4 separate regions of the Homo sapiens genome follow, and regions 1, 3 and 4 are each linked to region 2. Evidence: promoter capture Hi-C in 16 types of primary human blood cells and fetal thymus (Javierre and others, 2016). All regions are on one chromosome and are shown on one strand. Each heading gives the region's core, a stretch centred on a gene start or on the middle of the fragment in contact. The rest is flanking DNA. Distances are from core to core; before and after follow the strand shown.

The links. Contacts are between HindIII fragments. The CHiCAGO score rates a contact against its expected background, and 5 or more counts as called.
Region 1: a contact is called between a fragment that was not itself captured here and the fragment with the promoter of SLC9C1 in region 2, in 1 of 17 cell types (naive B cells). The highest score is 5.0, in naive B cells.
Region 3: a contact is called between a fragment that was not itself captured here and the fragment with the promoter of SLC9C1 in region 2, in 2 of 17 cell types (total B cells and naive B cells). The highest score is 6.0, in total B cells.
Region 4: a fragment that was not itself captured here is called in contact with the fragment with the promoter of SLC9C1 in region 2 in 1 of 17 cell types (total B cells); the score reaches 6.5 in total B cells.

What each region holds. Positions count from the first base shown.
Region 1 is chr3:113,000,173-113,002,872 of GRCh38, forward strand. It overlaps GTPBP8 (GTP binding protein 8), which reads left to right. Exons shown (of 6, transcript NM_014170.4): 6 at 678-1,797. The coding sequence ends at 747. RMP64 (ribonuclease MRP subunit p64) reads right to left here. Exons shown (of 9, transcript NM_015412.4): 9 at 2,272-2,700. Among named protein-coding and RNA genes, the nearest start is that of GTPBP8, 11 kb to the left of the region's middle. The HindIII fragment of the contact is 950 bases long and covers 788-1,737 here.
Region 2 is chr3:112,292,780-112,295,488 of GRCh38, forward strand. SLC9C1 (solute carrier family 9 member C1) reads right to left here and starts at 1,437. Exons shown (of 29, transcript NM_183061.3): 1 at 1,314-1,437. The HindIII fragment of the contact is 3,564 bases long and covers 1-2,300 here.
Region 3 is chr3:112,982,692-112,985,683 of GRCh38, forward strand. No RefSeq gene overlaps it. Among named protein-coding and RNA genes, the nearest start is that of GTPBP8, 6.8 kb to the right of the region's middle. The HindIII fragment of the contact is 1,215 bases long and covers 1,033-2,247 here.
Region 4 is chr3:113,288,203-113,290,902 of GRCh38, forward strand. CFAP44 (cilia and flagella associated protein 44) reads right to left here. Exons shown (of 35, transcript NM_001164496.2): 35 at 1-2,700. It overlaps SPICE1-CFAP44 (SPICE1-CFAP44 readthrough (NMD candidate)), which reads right to left. Exons shown (of 52, transcript NR_183050.1): 52 at 1-2,700. Among named protein-coding and RNA genes, the nearest start is that of BOC, 78 kb to the left of the region's middle. The HindIII fragment of the contact is 808 bases long and covers 911-1,718 here.

The DNA.
Region 1 (2,700 bases), core at 13-2,512, 710 kb after region 2:
GAGGTCGGGAGTCCAAAACCAGCCTGGTCAACATGGTGAAACCCCATCTCTAGAAAAATTAAAATAAAAAAAAAAATTAGCCAGATGTGGTGGCACATGCCTGTAATCCCAGCTGCTCGGGAGGCAGAGGTTGCAGTGAGCCAAGATCACGCCATTGCACTCCAGCCTGGGCGACAGAGTGAGACTCTGTCTCAAAAACCACCACCACCACCAAAAAAAACTGTAGTATATCCATACCTGAGAAACATTTTGGCTGATCTCCATACGGACGGACAGACGGACGCACAGATGGATATAGGAAGACAGATAGATAAATAATATGTACAATAATGGTGATGGTAATTTTTTTAAAACCTAAAAAGTCTAACAAGGTAATTGAATATTTATTACAAAAAGAACAAACTAAAGAGATCAAGACTTATTCTGGAAAACAAAGCAAAATAGAAGATATAGTGAAATTTTTGGAATCATGAAGGAAATGGATCAGATAATATTGATCATCAGATTTTAGAATACTACAAGACGCGGCTGGGGGAAGAGAAGAAAGCTAGAACACATTAAAAGATGTTCTGCTTTCATATATGAAATCATAAGAATTTGTAAATTTTTTTAAGTTGATGAATTCAGATGTTATATCTGAGGAAAGGAAGAAAATTATTTCTCTTTTCTTTTCACAGTGCTGTGACCTTTTCTGGAATCCACCTGTTGAGATGCTTTATAGCCAGTGTAACAGGAAGTCTTGACTAATGGTTCCCGGTTTAGCTGAAGATTCAAAAAAAAAAAAAAAAGCTTTATGCTAACTGGAGTTAAATACCTAGAAGAATTTCAACATTGTTTTAAATGTTGTGCATCTGTAACTTCAGGAGGATCACTTGAGCTTTAAAACCTGTGCCTTCTCGAAACAAGAATTTGTGCCTGAGGTGAAAAAAGTTTGTAAGTTATTGAATTATGGTGTTCATTAGAACAGCTACTAGCTGATTCCCCTATTTTAACAAACTGACAAGAGCACATCCATAAAATGAAAACCTGTTACAACTATGTACAGAAGGGTTTGACGTTTTATTGGGCTTTTGTCTTTTAAAGAATATGTCTACTATGGGTATTTTTTTTTTAAATGTTAAAATGGGCTAGGTAAAAGGGGGCTGCTTTTCTGTTAAGCATCGATAGGTAAGTTGATGGATAAAAGTTACTATGTAAGCCTATTTTTTTGAGTCCTTATTTGAATATTGAAAACATTCTTGATAAAATGTGTTAGTCCATGTTGGAAACAACCGAAAGAACAGAATTCAAGTTCTAGTTCTGATGTTTATTATATATGTTGGATCTTGGGCAACTTACTTGATTTCTCGGAAATTCATTTGTTACTGTAAACGTGAAAGCTATTAAGATTCAAATGAATGGTTTTACAGCAGGTAACATGTGAGAAGACAGCTACATATTTGTAAAGCCAAACCAACAAAGAAATATAGCAAAATTCACAGGTAGATTTATTACAAGAAATGTCCTTTCATGGGGGAAGTAACATTTTCACTAGTGAAAAAGCAAAAAACAAAAATAGCTTTAAGTGAGAAAACTAATTTGTAAAGGGCAAGAGAAAAAAGCTGATGGGACAGTTTAGACTGCTACATTTAAGATTCAGAATGGAAAAATAAAGCCTTTGAACTAAAGTTAATAGAGAAGATTTTTGTGAAGGTGCCACTAACCTATTCATGTAAGTGGCTTAGGTTTTCAAAGTGAAGCTTAATATTAAAAGGTTATAGCTGTATTGCTGGATAACAAATTAAAGCTATAAACCAACTTCGTGGCTTTTCTTTAGAAAACAATCTGAATATATTGTCAGTTTTATAGTTGACAGAATTGGTCTAATCTAAGCAGGAATGTTTTCAGCCAAAAAAAAGATTTTTTAATATAGACATTCATAAAATATATAGTAACAAAAGAATTATCTTAGAAGTCATCTTTTTGTCTGCCAGTGTTACTTCACTGCTTTGATTTATCCTTGGTTCTCCTATAAGCAGAGCCTGAGCCAAAAGCTTACATATGTAAATTTGGGAAGTGATCCCAGGGAACAGTGGCAAAATGAAACAAGACAGACAAGCCTATTAACAACATATTCATTGAGTTAGCCAAAACATAGGCACTAGTGCTAGATCTTGAGGGAACTTGTGACAAGTCCTAGGAAATATGTGTTGTATAGTGACCAGGTCTATGCAACCTACCCCCAAAGGCTGAGAGTGCTGAGATGCCAAAGAAAGAGGCCAACAAATCCAGTTTGTCAGAAAGAAACATTTAATAGGGACTTATGCACAGAAGCCATGTCTCAGGCAGTGATCCCCACAGTTACCCCCCGACCCAGGGCTTATATGCCATAGAGAAAAGGGGGTACATGAAGGAACATGTGAGACACTGAAGTCACCTCCTCAGGGAAAGGCAAGAATGCTGTTTACAACTTAGCCTATAACTTGCTTAAGGCCAGGATTTACAGTGTGTGTGTGTGTGTGTGTTCTTTTAATAGATAAAAGTAGAAATCTTAGAGGGCATTCCAGGAACTGGTTATCAGAAGTCAACATGGTAGATTAGCATCCAAGATGGAAGTTACTTTAGCCTCATACTGTGCCTGTGAATTTCTTTGAGGAGGGGATGGGGTGGCCCCACACCTCTTCCAGGTTGTACATACCCAAGTGCTAGGCAGTTCCTGTA
Region 2 (2,709 bases), core at 187-2,686:
TGATCTGCCCGCCTCGGCCTCCCAAAGTGCTGGGATTACAGGCGTGAGCCACCACGCCCGGCCACAGGTTTTCAATATAATTAGAACTCTTCATCTTAAGCTGACTTTTGACAGCTTTGTAAAAGTCTGTGAGTCCAAATCCCATTAAAGAAAAAAATATTGGTTTATCACATAGGTCCTCTGCATTAATTTAACAATAAGTTAGTTGACTGAGCACAGTGGCTCACGCCTGTAATCCCAGCACTTTGGGAGGCCTAGGCGGGTGGATCACTTGAGATCAGGAGTTCGAGACTAGCCTGGCCAAAATAGTGAAACTGTCTCTACTAAAAATACAAAAAAAAAAAAAAAAAAATTAGCCAGGTGTGGTGGCACATGCCTGTAATCCCAACTACTTGGGAGGCTGAGACAGGAGAATCAATTGAAGAGGCAGAGATTGCAGTGAGCCTAGATTGTGCCACTGCACTCCAGCTTGGGTGACAGAGTGAGACTCTATTTCAAATATATATATATATATATATCTCTCATGTTAGCTAATATCTCAATTCTCTTTGTGTGTGGAGGAAATTAATGACTGCCCTCTCAAAAATGACATGAATTTGTCCTTGTCAGTCAGCCAGCATTGAGAAATTTTGTCTCATGAACCGTAAGTCACACTAATTTACCATGTTACTGAACATGGAAACAGTCTTCTTCCTTCAGATTGGAACGTTTTGCAAGAATTAGGTGAAGAAAGCATCCTGAAGAGGGCACTGTGGGATCTCAGTAATCTTCACAGCTACAAAGCTCATGCTTAATGGTTTATTTTATATTGATACCAGAGGCTGGATTGTCTCCTTAGTAAACTCTCCTACCACACAACGCAGACATCTTACTGACTCTGAAGGTGGGTGGGCTATTGCCCTCCTAATGCCCCTCCACTCAGAATGAGCCCTTCCTCCAGCTCAAGATCAGCTCCACACACCTGAGGCGATTCCCTGAACCAGTGAGCTTTCCCCTAGGGCTGGACTTTTCAGTTTCAGTAACGCAAAGGGAACACATGCCACTGGATAGTTCACAAAGAGTTGATGTAAAAAGCATAATGGAGGAGGGGAAGCAGCTAAGGGGTAGAAGTTCAAACCGAGAAGCTAGCTGATCTTTGGGAAAGTGTTCCATGGTCTGCCACAAGAAAGGCAGAAGCGCCAAGAGGGAGTGGCTGAATCTCTAGCAGGAAAACAGTGGGAGCCTTTGTTCATCTAGGAGGCGAGACTGAGAGAGAAAGTACCAGTAGGAAAGGTCAACTTCCAGAAAAGGAAACTAGAGACTGGAGAGCTCACCATCCGGAGCCTCAGGAGGAGTATCCCGTGGTGTGCAAGTGAGAAGTGGGGGGCAGCTATTTCGCTCACAGCCAAACAGCCCAGACCAACTGCAACCTCACTGACAGTTACTTGCTCCAAACTCGCCCCTAGTCTGCACCGGTTAGCTTCAGGCCCATCATCTCTTACTTGATTGGCTGATGAAATGCAACGTCATTGCTCCTGTATATCTCAGGCATTTGACGGCTTAAGGCTTTGTTTTATTTTTTAAAAATAAACAAATAAGGGGTGAAAATGAACCTACAGAAATTGCGCCATTGTGTTAATTTAAGACTTTGGGACAGTGGATTTCTGACAAAGAGCTGTTGGACACTGCTTTCCCAGAATTCTAGTAAAAGGAAGTTTCCTGGATAAGATAGTGTGGTAGAGATATGAGGACGCAGGTTGCTGGGTTAGGGAAAAAGTGAATGGATATTGTGGGCATGTAAGAGAATGAAATCAAGATGACAAGGTGAACTTTCACTCTGGGTTATATGTGAGGAAATTTTCAGGAATAATGATATACTCATTTGTTTTTTCTAAACATAATATGTAAAAAATATTTTAATTGAAATTACTTAGTTATTACTATAGAGCCAACTTTTCACATTCCTACTCTCATAAAATATCTTAAAGTTATTTAAAATTGTATTTAATGTTTTGTTCTCTGTGTTTCATCTCTTTCTCCCGACCCACACGTTTATAAGTGAATGGTGGTAAAATTCCCAACTCTTCATTTGGCCTCCTCTGATACTACCCTGATGAAGAAGGCAGGAGGCAACTTGTTTGGCTGGGTTGGAGCAGAAGTCCAGGCTCCCTACATGGTCTCCAACTGAGGCATGGGGTGCATCTTTATGGCCTGGTTGTTATGGAAGTTCCAGCTCCCACAAGGCCTTTTCTGATACTGCTCTGGTTGGGGTGGGGAAACAGGCAGGGTTCTGGCATCTTGTATGGTATGGGTGAAGTTTAAGCTTCCTACTCAGTCTTTGCTGGTATGTGGGTACAGGGAGTGGGTGAACACTTTTCTGTGGTGTTTGGTTAAAGTAGAGCAGTTACTGGTGAAATTTTCTGTCTTGCTGGGCTGCCCCTTTTCTTGGGTCTTTAAAAAATCTATTCTCGGCCAGGTGCAGTGGCTCATGCCTGTAATCCCAGCACTTTGGGAGGCCGAGGCAGGTGGATCACCTGAGGTCAGGAGTTCGAGACCAGCCTGACCAACAAGGTGAAACCCCGTCTCTACTAAAAATACAAAAATTAGCCGGGCATGGTGGCAGGCGCCTATAGTCCTAGCTCCGGGAGGCTAAGAAAGGAGAATCACTTGAACCCGGGAGATGGAGGTTGCAGTGAGCCGAGATTGCGCCACTGCACTCCAGCCTGGGAG
Region 3 (2,992 bases), core at 390-2,889, 690 kb after region 2:
TTAAAAGTCTGAAGGCCTATATTAAGACTTTTTTCTTAAAATCATTTATGCTCCATTGACAACTAAGTTATGCTTTTATGACTATTTTCCTACTAGTGATCTTTCTTTCTTATATGCTTTCTTTTTACTTACTAATATACTACCAATAACTTGGAGTGATTTAATGTGATTTCAAAATGTGTGTAGGGGAATTTTCTAAAGAATACTGTTATGATTATCTCACCTTGGGAAAAGAAGAAGTAGGAAATATGAAACTGCTGAAAACGTTTGAATGTTGAATGTTCTGTATTGAGAAAAGGAAGTAGATAAGATCTTTTTTGATTTAATATTTCTATCTTTTACTTGGCTAAATATGATAAAGCAATGAAACCTGTAAGAAGTAGTGCTCTGCTTCCTAGTCAAAGTATCTTTAATTCTGGAAATTTTCAGCAAATTTCCTCCTTTTACTTCATTTTTTTCAAGTACTCCTATAATATTGTTTGGTTTGCTTTTGTTTTGTGTTGTTTTGTTTTTTGAGACAGAGTTTTGCTCTCTCACCCAGGCTGGAGTGCAGTGGTGTAATCTCAGCTCACTGCAATCTCTGCCACTCAGGCTCAAGAAATTCTCATGCCTCAGCCTCCCAAGTAGTTGGGATTGTGGGCGTGCACCACCATACCTGGCTAATTTTTTGCATTTACAGTAGAGAAAGGGGTTTCATCATGTTAGCCAGGCTGGTCTCCTACTCCTGGCCTCAAATCGATCTGCCCACCTCGGCCTCCCAAAGTGCTGGGATTACAGGACCAAGCCACCATGCCCAACTCTTACAATACTGTTATTTAAATTTCTTCTTTTCACCTTCGCAGCTCTTAACTTTTAAATTCTTTATATTTTTTATCCCTTCCTAATATTTATTGAAATATTCTCCAATCTAATTATCCTGCTATTTTGTTCTTTGAGTTGATAATATTATTCAACTATTAAACACATCCATTGAGAAATTTACTTCACAATAATATAATTCATATCTAATATGTTCAACTGGTACTTCTTAGAAGCTTCCTGTTTCATGTTTGCCATATATTCCCTTATCTCTGAGGATATTTTCTGTTTTTATTTAAATTCTTTGCCCACCAAGTCCATTCATTCTGATTACTTCTAGAATGAATTATCTTTTTCTTACTTTTTCTTCTATTGCTTGTGGGTTCATAATGTGAGTTCGTGAGATTATACTATTATGGTAAAATCAGCTATCTTTTAAAAAAAATCAGCTATCTTGGTAAATAACAGATACCTAGAGAGAGGAGTGAAAGGCTAGGTTCTGACTTGCACTAGTCTAGGCAGAAGAGAGATATATCACAGCATTCTGGGCTCAACCACTCGTGCGCCTGCCACCCATGAGATCCTGCCTATTAGGTAACCACCTAGTACCACTACACCAGGCATTATTCCTTTCTAGAGAGTAATCACAAAACATTGTTTGAATCTGATTGTCCAGCCCCTAGAGGAGGATGGGTAAGGAGGTTGGAGGGAATGTTCAAGGACATTGCTGCACTCAACTCCAGCTAAACCTGATGTTCATACCAGTTGAATCACCAATTCATTGCACTCCTCTCCAGAGGCCCCATACTTTATTACAGGTGGCTGAGACAGCAGCTTTGATTATAACCTCCTTCCACAGGAAGAATTCTAGTTTTGCCATGTCCTATTAAAATGACTAGAGAAAGTCTGTCCCACTTTTCTCAAAAATCTCCAGAGAAATCACTTGTATTTAGAGCAGAACCTGGAATACATCTTTCCTACAAGTATACAATCTCACAATAAGTGCAGGTGAGAAACTTCTCATTTTTAAATGTTTTTATCTTTTAATCTATGTGCAGAAAACAGTTCATATAGCAGGCCTGTGGCTGCTACCCTTAGAAAGATTTGTTTACAAGATTGGCACTGGGCTGACATTTGAGAACTTGACTGGTAAACAGTTTCCTTGCATGGCACAGAGCCAACTTTCCATTCATGAGTGGCTCACTGTATCTAAACTATTTGAACAAACAAGTGGTACATACTGATGCTGCTTTCCTTCTGCAAATCTGAACTTTCAGTGACTATAGTCAGTCACACAGGCACTAGATGCCTATATGAACAGCGCTCGGTAAAAACCCTGGACTCCTAGACTCAGGTGAGCTTTGCTAGTAGACAACATTTCACACATGTTGTTAAAACTCATTGCTGGCAGAATTAATTGCATCCTGTGCAACTTAGGGGACAATTAGAAGCTTGTGCCTGGCTTCCTCCAAACTTCACTTTGAGTGCCTTTTCCCCTTGCCAGGCTTGCTTTGTATTCTTTTGTTGTTGTAAATTATAGGCATAAGTACAACTATATGCTGAGTTCTGTGCATCCTTGCTCGCCTCATTTGGGAGCTAGTCTTGGGAACACCTGACACACTCTACCTATGAATAAGTTAAAAATTTGAATATACATCAATATATCTGCCTGTGAATGTTGCCTCATCTCCTCAGGGTGTTAGAGAACATTCCATTCACTTCCAACAAGGCAACAAGATATAAACTAGATGTGTACTACAAAGTAAACTTGCCCACTAAAATAACCTTGCTTAACACACAACAAGAATTAAAATGTTAACGAATTAATCAGTCAGAACAGCAAAATCCATACTATTTTCCAAAAACAATTTTAAAAAAACCCTCTGAGCTTGTTACTGATATAAAAACACAACCTGAATATGGTAAATAGTGTTCCAAATTATTTTAATAGCACTTGTATGACACAGAGCCAAATGCAAAATTACGAATGAAAAAAATTAAGACCACTTAAAGCAATCATTTCTCCCTCTATTGATAAAAACAACCTTGAAAGAAGTGAACCTTTACTCCTCCTCCAGAATCCAAATCACTCTACAAACTCACCTCCTACCTATGATTACTGTCTGATGGTTAATCTCCAGATCTCTTTAGAGAAATCTGTCAGTGCAGTAGGCACAACCTTAAAAGAAAGCTC
Region 4 (2,700 bases), core at 65-2,564, 1.0 Mb after region 2:
CAGGGTCCTAGGGAAGAGTCACTCTGACTGTTTAGGGCAAGTGCATCCTCTGCTGGCCAAAATAAGTATAGCACCTGCTATTCCTGACTTCTGCATCCTTTTTCCATCAAGCTCAACGTCAGAGAGAACTTCATGTGGAAGTGCAGCATGGTTTTCAGGAAAGCAGTATTTTAAAAATATTATTTAAAAGGAAGGACTGTAAGGAACAGGTAAATGTTAGGAAATGAGAAGCAGAGCAGGGAAGAGAAGAGAAAAAATAAGATACTGTGATTTCAGACAACCTGGCATCACGGCCCAGAGCTCACTTCTGGGGTGGGTAGGGCTGACGCTCTCAGTCATTGCTTTGCTATCCAGAGGCCCCCCAATCTGAGCTGTAACTCACCTTCTAGCCCCACTGGTTTTTACATTTTTTCCTTTTTCTCCTTGATGATCTAAGGTAGCTGTCAAAATGAAGTCTGGTGAACTTTTCTGAAGTGATAGGTGAAACATCTGCTTTCTGCACAGCACTGGAATCATAGCACTCAATGGATTTAGCTCTAAAGAGAAATTTAGCACATGGCTCACAGACCTCCCTAAGCTGGGGAGCCCGCTGTGGTGGGACAGGCTGGCTGGCAGGCATGAGCAACTCCTTTACTCTGAAGTTGTGACAGAGGGGCTGGACTCTGTGGTTTCTTTTTCTTCCAATGCTGAGATTGATCATCGGTGATACTATGGATGACAGTTCAGAAGAGCCAAGTTATATGAACAATTGACCCACAAGTAACTCAGTGTAGGCTGATTTTTGGCCTTACCCTCAGAGGTGAGGCTGCTCCTCTGGGAGCACAGCAGAAGGCAGGGAAGTGTGCCAGGAGCAGGATAGCTTCCCAGCCACCCTGCCCATGCCACACCCTGCTGGTCTACTTGTGTTTGAAGCTTAACTTCCCAAAGACTCAGATGCTCTAACTTAACTACAGATTTAAGACTAAGCCTGGAATCAAGTTGAAATGAACCTAAAGCTATCAACATATTTTGTCCAATTCAAAATAAAGTAATTCAGTGTTAACTGTCGTCAATTCCCAAACATGCGGAATGAAGCCCTGAATATTGTAGAATTAACTAGTGATTTAGTCCAGCTCAGTTTGGGAATAATTATCCCGATTAGCTTTCCTCTCAGTTGAAATGCACAGCAAGTCCTGATGTGGCTCTTCTGTAGACTGTAGGTCCATTCTTGCTGCAATCAGAATCAGAATCTCAGAATGGGAAGGAACCCATTCTACCAATCCTTCATTTGTCAGATAATAAAATGAGGCCCAGGAAGATAACGTAACTTCTCCTGATTCTCTACAATTACCAAGGGGATGGTATCGCCTCAAGACCTTTCTCAGAGACCAGCCACTCTCTCCAGGCAGCTGCTTCTTGTGGCTGCCAGCTCCCACGAAGGCCCCGGTGACCCCCACCTGGCATTCACACCCTGTTCAGTCCCCTCCCACATCACACAGGGTCAGCCTGTGACCCATATGACAATAGTGACGCTATGTCACTTCTGAGCTTGGGCTGTAAAAGACTGTGGCTCTTGTATACATCATTCTCTCTTGCTGTCTCCCTCACTCTTGGATCACTTGCTCTGGGAGAAGTCATATCCCAAGCGGCCCTATGGAGAGGCCCACATGGCGAGGAACTGAAGCCCTGCCTAATGGCCAAGGGAGTGAATTTGCTAATAGCCCCTCCAGCTCCAGCCAAGCTTCAGATGGCTGCAGCCCCAGCTCCTAGTGTGACTGCAACTCCACGAAAGACCCTGAGCCAGAACACCCGGCCAAGCTGTCCCCAGATTCCTGGACCTCAGAAACCCTCTCACTCCTGGGTGAGATCACAAGTTTGTTGTTTCAAGCTAAGTTTGGGGGTAATTTTTTACCGCAATAAATAAGACACTCAGGGCTATGACTAGCATATTTTTAAAAATACTTGAAAGGCACACATGGCTTAGGATATACAACACAGAAAGTGATTTAAAAAAAAAAGTGGGTGCTCTCCAGTAGAGAAGTGACTACATCAGAAATTAATGGTGACAAGTGCAAACAATAAGGTATTCTGACCTCTTAAATAGGAATATGAAGGAATCTTAGGAAGACAATAGGCCAAGTGGCCACCTCTAAGAATATGCTGATGTACAAAGAAAGCAAGACCTGTCTGTAATTTTGGGGGGCACATTAGCAGGCTAATCACAGGTGAGGAAGACTTGGCATTGCTGAGTTCCCTTCTACATTTATGCAATGTTCCTTTCTTCACCCGCCCTTCTCAGTGACCAGCTTATCCTGGAACAGCCTCAATGAGTAGCTCGTTAATACAGAGCTCTTAATCTAAAGAGCTATGCTCTGTTACTAACAGGATTCCAAATGTCAGTGAGATTATCCTGCAATGGTTATAGCCATGAACTTCAATGAGCACTTACCCCCAAACCAAAAGGATACTCTTCAATTAGTTTAAAATGTTATGCATAATCAAAGGTGATTGTTAAAGATGATCTCTAGTAAATCTATTTCATTATCTCCTCATCTATATCAAAACCAGCAAATGGCCCAAGTAAAACCTGAAAGAAAATGGCAGGGGACATGAGAAACTATGGGGAAAACTTAGAATTCTGACGGAGTTGCAGAAATCTTTAAAGAAAAGCCTCTTTATTGACTGTTTTATTAAGCATGCCCCTCTGCTCCACTCAGAACT